Regions from separate parts of the Homo sapiens genome. Here regions 1, 2 and 3 are each linked to region 4. The links are contacts of gene promoters, found by promoter capture Hi-C in blood cells and fetal thymus (Javierre and others, 2016). All regions are on one chromosome and are shown on one strand. Each heading gives the region's core, a stretch centred on a gene start or on the middle of the fragment in contact. The rest is flanking DNA. Distances are from core to core; before and after follow the strand shown. Region 1 overlaps LOC107985675 (a long non-coding RNA gene). Region 2 overlaps LOC107985675 (a long non-coding RNA gene). Region 3 overlaps LOC107985675 (a long non-coding RNA gene). Region 4 holds the start of ANOS1 (anosmin 1).

Region 1 (4,953 bases), core at 607-3,106, 760 kb before region 4:
CACTGGGTTCTACCCACAACATGTTGGAATTCAAGATGAGATTTGGGTGGGGACACAGCCAAACCATATTAGAACTAATACCTAGAGTTTATAGGGAACTCAAATCCGCAAGCAAAAAAGCAAATAATCCCATTAAATTGGACAAACTACATGAACAGACATTTCTCAAAAGAAGATATACAAATGGCCAAGAAACATAGGAAAAAATGCTCAACATCACTAATCACCAAGGAAATGAAAATTAAAACTACAATGACATACCACCTTACCCCAGCCAGAATGGCCGTTATTAAAAAATCAAAAAACAATAGCTGTTGGCATGAATGTGGTGGAAATGAAACACTTATATGCTGGTGGTAGCAGTGTAAATCAGTATAGCCTCTATGGAAAACAATATAGAGATTTCTCAGAGAATTAAATGTAGATCTACTATTTGATCCAGTGATCCCACTACTAGGTATCTATACAAAGGAAAAGAGGTCGTTATATAATAAAGAACCCACATACATATGTTTATCGTAGCACAGTGCACAATTATAAAGATATGTAATCAACCTAAGTGCCCACCAACTGATGTGTGGCTAAAGAAAGTGTGTTTTATACACATACACACACACACACCATGGAATACTACTCAGCCATGAAAAAAGAATGAAATAATACCCTTTGCAGCAACTTGGATGGAATTGCAAGCTATTATCCTAAGTGAAGTAACTCGGGAATGGAAAAGCAAATACCACATGTTCTCACTTACAAGTGGGGGCTAAGCTGTGACTATGCAAAAACATACAGAGTAGTACAATAGACATTGGAGACTCAGAAGAGGAGAGAATGGTAGGAGGTAATGAAAAATTACCTGTTAGGTACAATGTATGCTATTTGGGTGATGGATGCACTAAAAGCCTGGACCTCACCACTGTACAATTCATTCATGTAACCAGAAACCACTTGTACCCCCAAAGCTATTGAAATGAAAATAAATAATGGAAGCAAAATACAGCATGCGGCATAAATGCACAGAGCATGTATGTGATGCATTTATATGATTTTAGCCATATTTGTATTTATATGAACTTTTCAATTGATGGTTTGGCATATGAGATTAGGAGGCCTTTAAGGAGAATATACCTGGATTTTGGAGACGTGAGTTCTGTACTTCCTGTGTACTATGAAATTTCTGGACTCAAACCTTTTTTGATTTTGCAGTACACAGCAAAATAGAACTGTCTTTTCTGGGCACATGACAGAAATTAAAAGGAGAAGGGGCTAAGTTCAAAGGAATATAATTAATGTCCTAAAGGGGTTAAAAGCGTAAACTTAATCATTGCATCATCAGGTGACCTGTCAGCATGAGAACATTGCTTAATCTTGTACAAGTTACCTTCAGGAGAAAGTTGGTAATTCTTCCATGATTAGAATTACTTGTCAGGTTCACTTTAAAAATACGTAAATCTGAGTTTTTCCCGGTGACAACCAGCCCAATCAAAGAAAGCATGTGTTAAATAGAATGAAATTGCATTGTAAGTCAATAAGCCCAAATTAGAATAGCACTGTACAACTTCTCTCGGTGTTGCGATCCTAAAGATTTGTTATACAAGTGAAGTTAGGGACAGATCGAAAGACAGAGATCGCACATGTTAAAGAATGGTTGTGATGGAGGTTACTAAAGAGCTAGCTATACTGATAAAATGCATCAGATTGTTTAAACCTAAAATATATGGAAATAAAAATGTTGGAAACAAACATCTCAGTGAAGCTTTCTTCAATGGTTTTGTGTGACTCCATTTAAACAGAGATTACTAAAACCACTATAAACTAGAAAGTACAGAATCTCTAGGTAAAAGCTGAAGAAAGCACTGAAAGGGCATAATTCACATAAATCATGATCTAGGACCATCACTTAAAGAATGTAACAGCATTTTCTTATCACAGGGATTCTTGCCCATTGATGAACACTGAAGCTTTCTGAAGTTGTAACTGTTCTTTCCATTCTTTCTACCCTTTTATCTTGGAATGCAGCCAAGGATACTTGGCATAATGTGTTGCACAGTGACCATTCCACAAATTGTGAAACTGACTTTACAAAAATTATATCAATGAGAAAATTATGACAGTGAAAGAGATCTGAGCTCATCCACTCCCCATCTTACCTTTCCCTTAATTATTCCTGCATTATTGGACCTAGCTGATCCATCAAGGGCAGGGTCTGCAAAATATCTCAAGAATTGATCTTAGGTTTTACAATAGTGGTGTTATCTCCAGGAGCAATTTGGGGAGGTTCAGACACTTGAAGCAAGAGGTTGCATGACTCCTAAACAGTAATTTATAATCTTAAAGCTACTTTGTTAGTCCTACAAAGGCAGACTGGTCCCCAGACAAGAAGGGGTCTATTTGGGTAAGGGCCATTATCAATTTTGTTTCAGAGTTAAATGAGAAACTAAATTTCTTCCCAAGGTTAGTTCGGCCTATGTCCAGGAATGAACAAGGACAGCTTAAAGGTTAGAAGCAGGATGGGGCCAGTTAGGTCTGATTTCTTTCACTGTCATAATTTCCTCAGTTATAATTTTTGCAAAAGCAGTTTCAAATCCACACTTACTTTTATCAGGGAATTTTGTGAAGTCTTGTTCTATGATTTCAAAATACTGTGTTAGCTTTCGACAGCTTGGGAACATACCCATTCTATAAATTATGGCAAACTGTACTTGCTACGGTTTTATATTTTATTATATCACATGATTATCATGACAGTTTGTGGACTTATTTTCCTTTCTTTTGAGATTTCTTGTTAGGACTTGGGTCTTTTGGAATGTCAATTTCAATGATATTTATTGACTGCTTACTAAGCAGGTATTATGTAGAGCAACTAAAATAAGCAAGCATCTAACTTGGAAAGAGCAAAATATAAACCAAATGAAGAAAATGCAATAGGAAAAGGGTGTAAAAATGCACTAAATCTTTTCCTGAACTCTACATTCATTGTCCTTATTTTTCTTTTTCACTGTTTGTATAATACAGGGTATAATTAATTGGAATTTTTGTTTTGTTTTGTTTTGTCCCCATTCCAATTCTGCCCCTGAAACCACCTTTGCAAAATTATCACTGAGACAGTGAAAGAGATCTAACTTAATCGACTCCATCTTGCTTCCAAACTCCAAGCTGTCCTTGTTCATTCCTGGGCTCAGGGTGAACCAACTTTGGGAGAAACTCAGTTTATAGTTTAAACTAAGGATGATAACAACCCTTTCCCAAAGGAGGTCTCCTTCTTGCCTGGGGTCTAGATTGCCTTTGTAGGACTAACATTAGCCACAAGATTAGAAATTGTTTCTTAGGAGTCATGCAGCTGGAGGCTACAAGATTCTGAGCCTCCCTAAACTGCTCCTAAGATCAGTGCCTGAGATATTTTGCAGACCCTGCATGTGACAGATCAGCTGGCACCTCCCAGATCAGTAAACTGGGTCATCTGATCCTGTGCCCCTGACCCAGTAACTGACTCAGTACAAGAGGACGGCTTCAACTCCCTATGATGTCATCCCTCACCAATTAGAGCTCCTGGCTCACTGGCTTCACCCCACCCACCAAGTTCTCCTTAAAGACTCTGCTCCTGGAGTAATAATAAAACTCTGATCTCCTGCACAGCTGGCTCTGTGTGAATTTCTCTTTCTCTATTGCAGTTCCCATCTTGAGAGATCGACTTTGTCTGGGTAGCAGGCAAGGTGAACCTATTGGGAGATTACAAATTTGGGTGCTCATCTGAGATTGCCCTTATGGCTACTTCTGCCCATGGTTTGATACCAGCCTTGGTAAGGTTTCCCTTTTAATGAAAAGAAGCCCCCAAATAATTTCTTTTCTAACAGAGAGCAGCCTGTAAAATTGAGCTGCAGACATAGATAACCAAGCTGGAAGCTTACACGGGTGAATGCCGGCAGCTGTGCTAATAGGAAAAGGCTACCTGGAAGCTAGGCATGTCCAACATGGTGGCTCCATCTTCCCCTTTCCTTGCCAACCACATGTGCAGTAGGGAGCAGACAACATGGCACTCACTAGCCCACTAGAAAACCCATTTGCATAATAAAAAGATTAGCATGGGGCAGCCAGGTTCTTTGCGTGCTATATAAACATCACACCTGGTCCAACCAATCTTTGAGTCCTATGTAAGTTAGACACCGCCTCCTCAAGTCAGTCGTAAAACCCCATGCACTTCACCACAAAATCGAAGACCCACTTGGGTAGCACCCCTCTCTCTCTGCAGGAAAGAGAGTTATTCTGTTTTTCTTTCGCCTATTAAACCTCCACTCTTAAACTTACTCCTCGGGTTGTCCATGTCCTTTATTTCCCTGGCATGAGGCAATGAACCTCTGGTATTACCCAGTGAAGGATGCCATTTCAGTATCACAGAGAAGTTTATCCCTTCAATGGAAACTGTGTTATGTGGACTATTAGCAATAATAAATGGGTTACTACCTGGTGAAAAAATATGTTATTTTATAATATCAGACTGCCAGTTTTTTTCTGTCTTTGCTCCATCTTGACCTTAAGATGTTCATCAACTCATTTTTTTCAAGCAAAGTACATGACTGATGGAACTGCCATAATAATAATATTTCACTGAAATCTGGCATTACAAAATTTAAGTGGGTATTTGGAGGTCCATGCATTGATTACAGTTTTTAAATTTGAAATAAATAACCAGCATCCTTTGAATATGAAAAGCTGTTTCCTTTTGACATTTAATTTACCCTGTTTAAAACGTGAGATGTAAAGCGGTGGTTAGTCAGTGAACTAGAATTTTTGTTGTAGAGTATCCAGGACTTGGAAGAGTATCATGAAAGAATTCTTTTTGGTTGGTGAAGAGTGTCAACTTGAAAAATAAATCGCTGTGTTCCAAAATAAAATTGTGTCAGAGACTGTAAGTAGTGCGTATTTAATCTTAATAACTCAAGATTGATGTAATTA
Region 2 (4,655 bases), core at 1,275-3,774, 720 kb before region 4:
TGCTGGTGTGGAGAGGAGGGCCTACTAACCAAGGCCTGAGAGAAAGAAGCAGGCTCCAGGAAAGCATAGGAATGGGGCTTCTCTGAGAGGGACTGTTAGCAAAATGTTAAGATAAATTTGAAACAAACAAAAGAGATAAGGACTTTTTCTAAACCTGAACCGCAATTACTTTTGCACCAACCTAATAAAAATCACCTATGACGTACCAAGCTGTTTTTTTGCCTCAGATCCAAAGATGACCAAGACAGATCCCTCCAAGAAGGGTGTATATCCTAGTGTGAGTGAACTACACAAACATGACACAGGAAAAGACAACTGGTTCCCAAGGTTAAGAGTGCAATTCACTTTTGTGAAAAACATGCCTGAGAGTGTTGCTAGAGGTTCTCATTCTGTTTTTTTAAATATTTTTAAAAAATCCATGTTTAAATTGACAAATAAAAATTGTATGTATGTTATCATGTACAACATGTTGTTTTGAAATATGTATACAATGTGGAATGGCTAACTCAAGCTAATTAAGATATGTATGATCTCACATACTTATTTTTTTGTGGTAAGAACACTTAAAATCTATTCTCTCAGTGATTTTCAAGTATGCAGTACATTGTTATATAGTGAGCATGATGTACAGTAGGTCTCTTATTCCTCCTGCCTAACTGAAATTTTGAATCCTTTGACCAACATCTCCCCAACCCAAACCCTATCTTCCCCTTAACCACTAATAATGACCACTCTACTCTCTACTTCTATGAGTTCAACTTTTTAAAGATTCCATACATAAGTGAAACCATTCAGTATTTGTCCTTTTGTGCTTGGCTAATTTCACTTAGCAAAATGCCCTCCAGATTCATCCATATTGTTGCACATTACAGACATTTCCTCTTTTTTTAAGGCTGAATCAGAATTTCATTACAGAATTACCCCATTGTGTATATATACACAATATATACACAACATATTGTAGATATATACACAATATATACACAACATATTGTATATATATACACAATATATGCACAACATATTGTATATATACACAATACTCCATTGAGAAAAATCACATCACATCCATTGTGTATGTATACCACATTTTCCTTATATGTTCATTTACTGATAGACACATAAGTTGATTCTATATCTTGGCTATTGTGAAAAACGTGGAAATGAACATGGGAGGGCAGATATTTCTTTGACATACTGATTTTACCTCCTTTCAATATACATCCACTAGTGGGATTGATGGTTAAGTTTCTAATTCTCAAAAGATTAAGATAACCTTTATAAATGTCTGGAAAAGTTTACATATATTTATAATTACATATAAATATATGGGATAATTATATATAAGTATATAATTATGACAGAAAATGAATCTTTTTCTCCTATTTAAATGCTTAAAAATCATTCACCTCAAGAAGATCAGATACTTATCTATTTTTTTCTCCTATGGGTCATAGTTTTAATTAAATTCTCTAAACAATTTTGGGCTTAAAATTTGTGTTTGATATGATATAAAACTCTAAATCTGTTTATTTTACCCAAAATTTTAACCAAGTTTCCTGGTAACGTCTATTGCAAAATTCTTTCTCTCTCGACTAGGGTAGTTTAATTAATCCCCACCTCCTACACTGAGTTATATTTAATGTATACTTCCAGTTTCACAGAGCCTAAACTTTATTCTTAATGAGAATCAGTGATTAACCTAGTATGATCCTACCAAGTAAGTTAGAATATTATGTTGCCTGCCTGAAATACATTTTTTATATTGAACACAGAATAATAGATTTATGCTATTTGCCTAAAAAGTATTTTCTCTGCTTCCATTTAATAAATAGTGGACAGATATTTAGATAACATATTTCGAAGGTACACCAAATTATTAGATTACCATGATAGCCACATGATTTCACTTGGCTTTAGGTTGATTGCACTGTTTTTTGTTTTTTCTTTTTAAAACCTCCATCATCCTTATTGCGAGTTGAAATTCTTCTTGCCTGCCCTGAGAATTGGAGTGGTCAAATCAAAAAGCTTTTATGAAAGAGGTTTTAGTGGTGGTGTGAGATTTTGTCTTTCTTATTTTTCAGAGACATTTTGGTAGGAGATAAGAAATTGCTGGAATCATTTCCAAGCCTGGCTACATTCTTTAGTAGCTCTGTAATTTTGGGCACATTGCTTTCTCAAACTTGTTTCCACATATGTAAATAGGAAATAGTGATATCTACATTACATGGTTATTAGCACAGTTTCTAGCATTTGTAACCACTCAGTGAATAGTAGGAGCTATTGGTATTTACAAAGTAGGGGAAAGTTGAATACAAAGTTAGTATCCAAAAGTATATTGGATACTAAAAGCCAGATGTTCTCTTCTGCAAGAATTCTCTCACAGATGACTTCAATAAGTTACTATTAAATGAATGATAAATGGATAAATGAGTGGATACCTTCATAAACAAACACAGATAACACATGGCAAGGCATGGATGGATCAGAACTGTCTACTTCCTTCTGGCCAATCCAACTTTTTTATGTGCCTTGCAACTTCTTGCCTATACAGGTGAATTTCAAATGTGCTGTCTTGTTGTCATCAGTTACCCTAGATGATTCCTCCTCTCCACCAATTCTCTTCCTTTAACCCCTTCTCAGGGGTTAAACTTTCTGATCCAAAGTTCCCTGCCTTGAACCTGCATTGGGTCTTCAGGTTTGGAATTTTTACGTTAGAGTCTGTATTCTAACCTTTATTTTCCATGAAGGTCCTGGCCTTAGCTTAATCCTGGTTGTTCTCCATGATCTGAAATACAATAAATCATTCAGCAGAAATATTTGAGATCCAATTTGTCTCGAGGGAACAGTATTTCTGAGTTAGATACTGTAAATTTTGGCAGATAAGCTATGATATTTAGTGCAGAATTATAGTCTTGTAAGCAATATGTGTTTTTTTTTCCTCTTCCGAGATGGAGTTTTGCTCTTTTGCCCATGCTAGAGTGCAGTGGCACAATCTCGATTCACTGCAGTCTCCACCTCCAAGCTTCAAGTGATTCTCCTGCCTCAGCCTCCTGAGTAGCTGAGATTACAGGTGCACACCACCGGGCCTGGCTAATTTTTGTATTTTTAGTAGAGAAGGGATTTTGCCATGTTGGCCAGGCTGGTCTCGAACTTCTGACCTCAGCTGATCTGCCTGTGTCGGCCTCCCAAGTGCTGGGAGTACAGGTGTGAGCCACCATGCCCGGCCAAATATGTGAATTTTTAAAGTGGCTGTGCATCCAAAAGCTATTATTTTGTACATGTTTAAGATAGAAATTAAATAATGGCAATACAATTTATTAGTTCATATCAAGTAAAAACAGTTGGGGTTGCCTGAAGATGGGAAAATTAACACATTATAATAAAATCCTTACTATTTATTGAGAAATAAACAATGAACTAATTGTATTTATAAATTGTCCCTAAATTAGAATTTACAACCCAAGTGCCTTTCCCAAACCTATCAAAACAGAACCACCTTGCAATAATAATATCCAAGAAATTATCATTTACCCAGAAATCTCAGCTGATTTGCAGATGGAAGTAGCAAAGTCTCTCGTCCTCAGGATTGGTTGTCACAGGTTTACACTACCAAAGTGTCTTGGAAAATTCCATCATTGTTTTATGCCTTATTTTACTGCCTTCTTTTCAAATGTTCTCTCCCTGCCTCGAAATGACTTCTGGTTCATGAAATGTATGGCGTTTTCTCAGCCTGAGAGACCTGGAGATCAGCATCACTCTGTTCATAGATTGTAGATTGTGCAGTTGTGGTGGCTCTGGCAGCCAAAATCCCAAAGATCATGTTGTCAGTCACTGTGCGCAGTCCAGAAAATTAACTTTCCGTCATTATAATTCTGTGGTTTTTGAAAGTATATCAAAAATAATATCCTTTTAGAATACTTCTGTAGTATTCTGATTTTTTAACGGAATTCTTTATTCTCCTTTGAGTCACTTGGAATCTACTTCTAATCCAGTCACTTGGACCATAGGATCCAGCACAGTGGGACCTGCCCATGCTAACCCTACCCCAAAGTGGGTGGTTTGCACAAGGACCAAGGTCAGTTGCCCTCAGCTGCAGCACTACTGACATTTGGAGCTGGATCCATCCTCTGTGGTGGGGTTGCCCTGTGCCTTGTGGATGTTTCGCAGCATCCTGGCCTCCACCCACTTGATGCCAGGAACATCACCCTCAGTGGTGACAACTAAAAATGCCTCCAGACATTGCCTAATGTACCCTGGGGGACAGTGTCACCCCTGGGTGGGAACCACTGAGCTGGATTAATACCCTCCTCATATCAAAGCTTGCACTAACTCTTCAGTGTGGGAGACTTGGCAAATTATATCACAACAGTGTGTTGAACCTGTGCATAGAACAATCACTCTAACATAACTTTTATTGCCCAGTTAAAAATTCCTCCAGGGGTTGCTACAGATACGTATCTAGGCTGTTTGAACTCTACCTGATTAGGCACTCAAAATTAATGTGCCTCAAGATGTTATGATCAAACCAACTCGTGTACTGATCATTGATGTAAAGCTATTTGGACTTGAATAATATGTGTTCCATACACATGCATGTCAATATTTTAAAATCTCCTTAATCAGATTAAACAATCTCACTCCGAAAAAATATT
Region 3 (5,055 bases), core at 2,452-4,951, 690 kb before region 4:
GAACTTAATCAGACAGCCACTCTGTTTGCAAGGGAGGCTATGAAATATTATGTGCATATAGGGATTCCGTTACTAAAATTTAGGGCAAAATTACTAGAAGCCTTTGCCATGTGGGTCTCTGTAATGGCTTTCGTGAAGGGCGGAGGCACCAAGAATTGATATGGGTTTCAGTCTGTCCTTGCAGGCTCCAGCCCCTGATCTCTCCCATGTCATGTTCCTCTTCCCTTCCTGAATTTCTGCCCTCTGGATGTCTAGCTTCAGCATCAAACACAAAAACAACATCAAAGCCTTACAGAGACTGCTCAACCAGCTCCACAAGTGTGCAAATCAGAGCTCTGTCATAAAGACCTCTAACTGTATGTATAAGTATCTAATAACTGTGAATAGATATAAATAGGTAGATGTATATCTGATATTGATTAATCAATTTGTCTACCTCTAGGCATATATGCATATATTTATGTGTACTATATTGGATAAGAAAATATATATGCTTGTGTCTGTGTGTGTTCATATGTGTGTGTGTATGTGATGTAGATATAGACTATATAGAAGACATATAGATAGATTGATATGTCTTATATATATGAGATATATAAAATACTGATATCTATATATCATATATTTCTGTGAATCTATATATCTATATACCTGTAGATATGTAGATATATTTACATGATATATATACTCAATCAGTATACTATTGATATAAATAGCATATATATAATCATATCTATCTATCCATCTATCTATATCTCCTGTAGATCTAGATTTAAATATAGATATAGGTATCAATACTGTATATTCAGTATTGATATTGTAGTGGTATGTTTCTATGGTGGAACCCTGACTGATAAACTCTCCCTCTAACAGCTATCTGACACCCACTTTTTTTGTTACTATGTAAGTCCCAGAATGTAAGCTCTAGAAACTTAAGAGAACCTTGGGAAAATAGGATGAATGTACCCCCACTACCCTCCTGCACACAAAAAATTGAAGCTAACCCATTCTATCACCTCCATGAAATATAGGAATAAATATGAAATTAAATTATGTAAAATAATGGTGATTCAATTACCTACACCCTTGTGTTTGTGAATTAAGATATATCTTTGCAATAATATTTCCATCTTCTCTCCAATGTCAGATCTTTCCTTTTTTTTTTTTTTGTGGGGGGGGACAGGGTCTCACTCTGTCACCCAGGCTGGAGTGCAGTGGCGAGATATCAGCTCACTACAAGCTCCGCCTCCCGGGTTCAAGCGATTCTCCTGCCTCCACCTCCTGAGTAGCTGGGATTACAGGCATGTGTGCCACCATGCCTGACTAATTTTTGTATTTTTAGTAGAGATGGAGTTTTGCTATGTTTGCCAGGCTGGTCTCTAATGCCTGACCTCAGGTGATCCGCCCGCCTTGGCCTCTCAAAGTGCTAGGATTACAGGCCTGAGCCACCATGCCCAGCCTCGTGTCAAATCTTAGTAGCTCAGTAGAATAGTAAGGTAAGATCAATTCTTCACATCAATACTTAAATACTTCTCAGATTAAGGACTGTGTCTTAGAATTTGAGACCTCAAAAATACCTTGTAATAACTATTTCTAAAAGTCCCTAAATTGTCCAGGTTAAGTGTTGTTTTATAAAAATATGTGTTTGAAAGAAAAAAAAAGGGATTTCTAATCTTTTAAAATTTTCATACAGAAGAAAAGGTGAATTCAAGGTACATATGTTATCAGGTTTTTTAAAAAATTAAAAAATAAAAATAATTTGTGTTTGAGGCAAAATAATGGATTGAGAAACAGTAAAATGTCTTAAAGAATCATTTACAAAATTAAGACTAAATTGAGGGAGCTTTAATGATTATGGGGAATCACATAAAAGTTTTCAAAATGTACATGAAGCTTTGGAAATGATGTTTATTGAATTAAATTGACTATAGGAAAAGGAAACCTAGAGATAACATTCTGGAAATATGTTCTGCAATTTCTGTATTTCATAAATGAATTAACTCTAAGGCAATTATGAGGAAGATGAGATAAATAGTATTTTTCCTCTCTTTATCTCTTTCATCCTTTTTTCCTTCTCTAAGTTATAGCACCTCAAGCAGAGCCTCTTAAAGACAAAGGCTTCCCAAATGCTGAAATACTTATAAAGTCTGATGGGTTTGTCTTCTGACGTTTGGGATTTCTTTTTATTTTGCTTTCTATAGAAAACTCAACAGTCCAAAGGCCAGAATAGGACGTCTTCTATCAAACTCTCAGGTTTTCCTGTCTTCCCTCAGTATCAAGGCATAGCTTTCACTAACATTTGCAAAAGACATCCATTTAACTAAGGCTGTTGATTACCCAAGTGTGGCAGTTGTCAGAAAATACTTACTACATAACACTAGAATCACTGGAAACCGAATTGGAGTTAAATAAGGTGGATTAACATAGCTAATGTGTTCAAAGAAACATAGAATTTTACTCTACTGCTTAGACACCAAATTTATCTGTGAATTTTGTAAATAGACTTAATTTTTTATAAAATGACCTAAACTCTATACATAGTATGTGAATAATGGGAGTTTGTTATTTAATATTTAAATGTCTACTATGAAGACAGCTTTTGGATGTTAGCCCCTTAAACACCCTAAATAGTCCCTTGTTAAAAGTAAAAATCTGAGTCTCAGACAAGTTTAGACACTTTCAAAGACCAAGTTGGATGCTTTATGAAGACAGGAAGGGATGTCAGCTAATCAGAGTGCGAGTAAACAAGTGAAACTATGGCTAAGCTATTCCCGAGTGAGAACTCCCCATGAGAGGAAATTAAGGAATTCCCCTGCTTCTATGTGAAATGCTGCTATGTAGTGCACGGCACACCAGTATGCCATAAGATTTGTTAAAGCCCATTGTTGTGCTGGGGAATTGTGGGGCCACTTACATATGTGGCAGGGTAATTAGTAATAGCTAATTTATTACTGATGCCAGTCAGTTAATCTGGGATTAATTCAGAACCATACATTTTAATTATTCTTTGTTAAAAGTGTATAGTTATGAGTAATAACTTGGGTTTTAATTTTCTACCCCCTTTCTGCAAATAAAACCTGATGATTTGAACACAGATATCTTTCTTCAGTTTTCACATTATTATCCTGTCTTAATCAAGCTTAACTTGATTAAATCAAGTATTATTTGAAATACACACACACACACACACACATATGTACACAATGCAATGGAAGATACTTAAATTGTATAGGCTGTGGTTTGTGATAATTCTAATGATTTCATTTATGACTAAGTTGATGGTATTTCAGTGCAGAGGTCAGCACGCATCCCATTGTTGTTGAGTGTGTTTGGTCTATGTGTGTGTGTGTTTGTGTGTATGTTTCTGAGTTTCTCTTGAGTTTGCAGTCCAATATATGGATCCATGCTGCAAATGCATGAGCCCATTCTCTCCTTTGTCTGCTTTCTCCTGTCAAACCTAAGAAGTCTCCAGGGTGGTTGTGAAGCCATTCACTGAGCGCCAGTCATGGGCCACTGCACCCATTGAGCCGGTTGCCTGCTCAGCAGGCACCACTCTGGCTCAGAATACGGGGTGACAGGTGTGTGGTTGAGCAGGCTTCCTCATTAGGTCCTGCAAGGACAGTGCCCCTTTATCGACAGCCCTTATCAGAGAGGGATCAGTAAACAGGCAGATCCCGTGGCTGAGCTGGGCAGCATTAAAGGCTCCATTGGGAGAGGACCGATGACACCTGCCCTCTTCTACAAAGAGCTCTTCTTGCGAAGGTGACAAAAGGATTGCATTTCAGGGGAATGAAGGCCTATAGGGATGTCTTTCATCCCTCCCAAGCATTCTCTCCTGACACATTCAGCAGTTCTTGACTATTGAGAGGAAACCATTGAAAATCATGAAAGAGCAAAGGGCCCCAAGGCCTCCTTCTGTCCTGTCCTGCCTTTACTGATGAGACCTTCTAAGTTTCCACTGCTGACTCACTTGCAGTACCCATGTTCTCCTTAGGAGGCTGCATTGAGGAGAGGAAAAGTGGAAAAGGGTTAGTTCACAGCCCATTGAAGGAACAATAAACCCATCCACAGACAACTAGATTGAGCCCTGCACATAATATGATACCTGCTCTAATTTGGTACACAGTGAGTACAGTCCCTTATCCCAAACTAGAAAGAGCAGAATCAGAAAGGGCGCAGGGCCAAGTCATAAGGTGAAAAGAATGTAATACACAGGTTAAAATGAATAAGTCTAACTAGATTGCCAAAAACAATCTGGACCACTTAAGCTTCTGCGTTTGATAATGATATATGGTTAATCTGGCAGTTTTGTCCACATATTGTGGCAAAATGTGCAATTCCTATAGTGAAGCTAAGTGAGATGGTTAACTTAATGACTGTCACTATTCAGAGGTGTCATTTATTAGCTTCTGAACTCTTAGATGTTGGAGAACACAATTTGCAAAACAAGATATTGAGTTGATGGATGAAAGTGAACCTGAAGAAAATAGTCTAGAAAGGCTATATTCATTTAGTTTCTTTTTACTTTTGATTTTCATAAGTTCTCATAGTTGAGGATGGAAAATTAAAAACACATGACATTGGTAACAATACACAGTTGTTGTACAGCACCAAAATATTGTAGCATACCAGCTGTAACAGCAGTATGAAGCCAGAGCTGCTTCAAGGAGTAGGGCTTTGATAGATTATTTTTCTTAGATTATTTTTCTTCTCACATAACAAGAACTCGGGATGTAGGTAGCCTGAGGCTGCTTTGCTGATCATGACTTAGGGCCTTAGAACTTTCCTACTCTGCCACTGGGAATTCTTGCATGATGACTCCTGTACCTCCGAGCTTAGGTATAAGATGTAGGCAGGTAGAAACTGGGTCTCAAGAAAAAAGACACACATCTGCAGGTCTGCCTTCATCTTCCTATGGCTACCCCCAGCTGCAAGGAAATCTGGGAAGCTGCATATTTTAATTGGATACATTGTCATCCTCAACGTCATGGTTGTGAAATAAGGAGGAAGGGGAGGGTGGCTGTTGGGTGGCATACTAAATTCAAGTGCATTCAA
Region 4 (4,872 bases), core at 1,429-3,928:
TGTGATCTCGGCTCACTGCAACCGCTGCCTCCCGGGTTCAAGGATTCTCCTCCCTCAGCCTCCTGAGTAGCTGGGACTACAGCATGCACCACTACACCAGGCTAATTTTTGTATTTTTTGTAGAGACGGGATTTCAAGTTGGCCAGGCTGGTCTCAAACTCCTGACCTCAAATGATCTGCCCGCCTTGGCCTCCCAAAGTGCAGGGATTAGAGGCATGAGCCACTGCGCCCGGCCCATCTTCCTTCTAATTATTAAAAAAAAAAAAAAAAAAAAAAAAAAAGGAAGGCAAGCGGTGGGGAACAGGGAAGCTTGGGGTTTTATAAGGAGAATGTGTTGCTGGCTTTTCAGATCTTAAAAACACTTAATCCCTGCAATTTAGATAAATCAGATAGGCATTACCAGGTTAGGGTTAAGGCTCCCAGAATGGCTTTGCAATTGATTACAAACACAGCACTTATTAAGTCTTAACTGAGTAATTTGCAGCTTATTTCACCCCCAGCTAATTAAAATGTAATCAGGATTGTCTAGCAATGTGCATTCTGTCAGCAGTTTTTCTTCCAAAGAGAAATCATGCCAAGGAGACCACAAGAAAAGCCTTTCACGGGAACTGGCTTCATCTAAGCTGGTGCTTTAGCCACTGAAACTGTAAAACAAATAAATTACAGCACTGACAATTCAAGAAAAAGAAAAAAAAAAGGTACTCTTTCTCCCTGGGAATAGGCTGCTCCGTTTTGTTTTGTTTTCTGTTGTTTCAAACAATAGTGTGGCATCTTAGGAGAGTGACTTTCAGGGTAGGACTCGGAGGGCTGGAAACCAGGTGCCTGGGGATCGGCCCTCTCCTGGCTCTGTCCAGGATGTCTGGGTAATTTCACCACAGGAGGTGAGCACTGGGTCTTCCATTCCCTGAAGACGCAGAAGGACTACAGAGCGTGCCCATTTCTCTGACACCCACGAGACGCTGCTTCTACGACTTAGAACAAACTCAACTGCACACTCGCGAACGCGCCAGCTTCACCAGCCGGTTCAAGATCATCCCCGAGGGTAAGGGGAATCACTTCCACATTCCACCCTTATTAATATGGCCTCCTCTGGCAGCTTAATTCCCAGGGCCTCTAGGGGGACCCCCCCCCCCACCCCTTGACCCAGCTCTGGCAGGAGGGGCGCCCAGTTTAAGAGCCAAGGGTTTGGCTTCCAGTTCCCGCCCAGCCAGGGGAACCCCTCCCCCCAGCCCCCATTTCTCCTTTTGGTCCCTCCAGAGTTTCCCTGAAGCGAGAAATTGGGAACTTGGAACAGGTGGGCACCTAGGGATAGAGGCGAGAAGAAGAAGGAGAGAAGGATGAGAGAAGAGAAAAATAAGCGGAGGATTTCAGAGCTCGCACGCTCGACAGGGCTGGTACAGGCAGCAGCTGCACTCGCTCGCGCTGAGTCCGGAACCTGCTCTCGTGCGCCCACCCGCACCCGGAGCCTCGCGCAAGTCCCGCGGGGGTCCGCGCCACAGGGCAGAGTCCCGGCAACCCGCTGGAGCCAAGCGCGCGGCTCCCGGAGCCTCCCACACAAGCGCGCGCGCACACACACATACTCCCCACCCTCAGGCTGAAAGAACCTACGTTCGGGGTTTGGGGGACGGTTCCCCCGGGACTCGTTGAGGAGTATCCGAATACGGCCCCGCCAAATCCCCTGTCCCCGGCACTTCTTCCCTGACGCTCTACGCTAGTCCAGGGCAAGACCTTGAATCTTTGGGGTTCCGAATTGAGGCGCGCACAGCCACTCGCACCCCCAACACGCGCATACACGCACCCTGGAACACGACTTGGCACAAGTACCCTGGCTGGGGCTCCAAGGGTGGGCAGCGAGCTCTGAGCCCTCAGAGAGTGAAAACCATCTTTCAAAAGAGACAAAGTGTCGGCCCGCGGGCACCTGCGGGGCTGGGGCTCGAGGTGAGGTCCCCAGGCGCAGCCGGACGCGCCTCCCAGACTCCCTCCCAGTGCCCCGGAGCGCCTGGGACTTTGCGGGAGTCGCCGCCCGCCCGGAGTCTCGCGCACTCCAATTCCCGGGAAACCGCCACATCCACACACCCACTCCCAGCATCCACGACTCTCCCTCCCCAGGGAAATCGCCTTTGGTTTCCTGCTGGGAAGGAGGGAGTTGGGGCAAGATGTCTCGGGCTTCTTTTTCTTTTCAGGAGCCGGGAAGAGGCTGGAAAGGAGAGTTCCAGCACCCCGACTGTAAGATCCACGCCCAGGGGAAGCCAGGATCAGCCGGCGGCGCTGGCCGAGAACTTTGCGAGCCCAGGCTGGGAGGCGCGCGCCCCGGTGCGCCCACGCCGCGGCCGCAGCCCCAGAAAGAACCCGGGCGGGGGCCTCCCCGTACCTGGAAGTGCTGGAAGAAGGCGGAGATGCGAGTGATCTGCAGGCTCAGGCACCTGGAGGCGCAGCGAGCGCGCTGGACGCTCCCGGCAGACAGCGACTCGTCCAGCCGCCGCGCAGCAGCCGCGCCGGGGCCGGCCGCCAGGCAGCCGCTGGAGGCCGCCAGCCAGAGGCAGAGGGTCAGGACCGCGCCGGGCACCCCGGGCACCATGGCTGCGGGTCGAGGGCGAGGGCGAGGGCGCCGGGCGCGGGCCGAGGCTCCCTGCTCCGCGCCGGGGCTGCACTGCTGAGGACCAGGCAGACGCCGCGACTGAGCCGGAAAGTTCAATCCTTCAACTCCGGCCGGACCCTCCTCGCCGACCTCCCTCCCAGCTCGCCCTCGAGGGGTGGGGTGAGGGGGACAGGAGGCCGCACCATTGGCTGGAAGGCGTGTGAGTGACAGGGGGGCCGGGCGCAGGGCCCATGGGCCGGTCTCGTCAGCTGCGAGCCCGGGCGCTCCGGGGGAGGGCGACGCCGAGCGGCTTTCCACGCCGCGCAGGTCTCGAGGGGCCCAGCTCCCACGCAGGCGCCTCTCCCGTTCGCACCAACCGCTTCCTGCCCCTCCCACCTTCCCCCTCCGTCCAGGTAAACGTCGGTGTGAGCAGGTCCAGGCCTGCCAGGAGGGGTGCTCCCTTCAGCAGGAGGGAAGAGGCCTCAGGACCCCCAGGGGCGTCCCACCTGCCTGGGGATTGACCCCGCGCCCCTAAGTGGCTTGCTTTCTCCCCGACCTCCCCTGGGTCCAGGCTTTTCCCACGCTTTCACATATTCGAATTTCCTTTGCCCAGGTAGTGGAAAGAAGTGAAGAAAACAAATGGCAGTAAGACAGACGGGGAGGGGAGCGTGGACATTTGCCCTACAGTGTCCCGGAGACAAATTCCTCCTTCTCTCCCTCTTGCATTTCTTCCGTCCTTCCCGCATCCCTCCCTCCCTCCCTCCCGCACTGTTTTCCCTGGAGACAGTCTCAGTGCATAGCTAACCACCTTTAGGTCCACACGCCTTGTTTCCTCAGGTGTCTGTTTTTCTAGTAAGCCTTGCACGCCCCAAAGTGAGTGATTTATTCTAAATAGACTTGCGTCTTAATCTCTTTCTTTCCCCACGATTTGCCCGAGCCTCTTGACTCAGGCTTTTTAGCTTTGGAATGGCTGCTCCGTCCTCTCCTGTCGTTTTTGTCTAGTGTTCTCTCAGCACACAAATTCTCCCTCCCCAGCCAGGATCCTGCCACAGAAAGACAGGAGGCATTGATAAGACACAACTTGTAACAAAGCTCTACACTCCCCTGAGCCCCATCAGGAAGTGACAGTCCCCTTGCAGGTAGGAGAGCCCAGAGAAAAAAGACCCAGGCACACTCCTATTCGAATGGACAACAACTGACTGCTGTTCCTTTGCTCTGACATCTCCACCCTCTCCTACCCAATTGCACTTTCACCTTCGAAAACGGGATCTCTATAAGCACCCAGCTAAGCACAGTCAGGGTATCTAGATGCACTCGCTCTACTCAAAGCTACATCAGAAGGCTGGAATCCTCTTTGCACAAAGCCTATATAGTTGTTTTGCAATTTCCCACCCTTTTCCCTATTCTTATACACAGGTTCCACTCTGCAATTTTGAGATCTGCCTGTTAACAAATTGCAATGACAGCCATCTGCAGCTATCCTATTATGAGTGCTTTTCAAATACATCATCTTACATGTGTATTTCTTCACATAGCTTAAATCAGAAAGGCCAGTCAAATTAATTGGCCTTGGTGTGTTTCTCAGCGAATTAGAAAATCAGGGTCATCTTGTTCAAAAGGTTCTATAGGCAAAGCCAGTTTCATGGACATGCAAGCTGTACAATGGTACAGTCGCACTCTTAGAAGGCCTGTTCTGCCATCACCATCCTGAAACTCTTCACAATGACAGTGGCCTGTTAGGAACTGGGCCGCGGCAGGCCAGGGAACATTACTGCCTGAGCTGTGCCTCAGGTGAGAAATCAGTGGCAGCATTAGATTCTGATAGGAGCTTCAGTCCTATAGTGAACTATGCATGCGAGATGTCTAGGTAGCGCACTCCTTATGAGAATCTAATGTCGATCTGAGATGGAGCAGTTTCATCCCCAAGCCATCACTTGCTACCCCCAGGTCCATGGAAAAATTGTCTTCCATGAAACCAGTCCCTGGTGCCAAAAAGGTTGGGGCCACTCTTTACTTGGGCTGGAAACCTAGTAATTTTGGCATAAGCTTACACGACTTCAATGATTTGTTTTAAAATTGCTCAGAATTGCAAATGGAAATATTTTTTAAGTATGTTAAACATAATATTAACGAAGAGTAAAGAAGCTAACTATAATGACCCCAAGCAGGCATGTGTATAAAGCCAAGTGTCAATAAATAATGATGTCTGAATACCGAGATTGTCTTCTAAATGTTGTCACTTTCATTTGTGAATTACTAAAAACATTTCCAAAAGCTGTAGGGGATCCTTTCCT

What was found. Contacts are between HindIII fragments. The CHiCAGO score rates a contact against its expected background, and 5 or more counts as called.
Region 1: a fragment that was not itself captured here is called in contact with the fragment with the promoter of ANOS1 in region 4 in 5 of 17 cell types (M0 macrophages, total CD8 T cells, M2 macrophages and 2 more); the score reaches 10.0 in M0 macrophages.
Region 2: a fragment that was not itself captured here is called in contact with the fragment with the promoter of ANOS1 in region 4 in 10 of 17 cell types (M2 macrophages, naive B cells, M0 macrophages and 7 more); the score reaches 11.4 in M2 macrophages.
Region 3: a contact is called between a fragment that was not itself captured here and the fragment with the promoter of ANOS1 in region 4, in 4 of 17 cell types (M0 macrophages, M2 macrophages, naive CD4 T cells and 1 more). The highest score is 6.8, in M0 macrophages.

Annotation. Positions count from the first base shown.
Region 1 is chrX:7,969,287-7,974,239 of GRCh38, forward strand. The region is part of intron 1 of LOC107985675 (a long non-coding RNA gene); the gene reads left to right. Among named protein-coding and RNA genes, the nearest start is that of PNPLA4, 44 kb to the left of the region's middle. The HindIII fragment of the contact is 205 bases long and covers 1,755-1,959 here.
Region 2 is chrX:8,010,383-8,015,037 of GRCh38, forward strand. The region is part of intron 1 of LOC107985675 (a long non-coding RNA gene); the gene reads left to right. Among named protein-coding and RNA genes, the nearest start is that of PNPLA4, 85 kb to the left of the region's middle. The HindIII fragment of the contact is 997 bases long and covers 2,027-3,023 here.
Region 3 is chrX:8,038,521-8,043,575 of GRCh38, forward strand. The region is part of intron 1 of LOC107985675 (a long non-coding RNA gene); the gene reads left to right. Among named protein-coding and RNA genes, the nearest start is that of MIR651, 86 kb to the right of the region's middle. The HindIII fragment of the contact is 1,129 bases long and covers 3,138-4,266 here.
Region 4 is chrX:8,729,459-8,734,330 of GRCh38, forward strand. It overlaps ANOS1 (anosmin 1), which reads right to left and starts at 2,679. Exons shown (of 14, transcript NM_000216.4): 1 at 2,372-2,679. The coding sequence starts at 2,578. The HindIII fragment of the contact is 4,315 bases long and covers 308-4,622 here.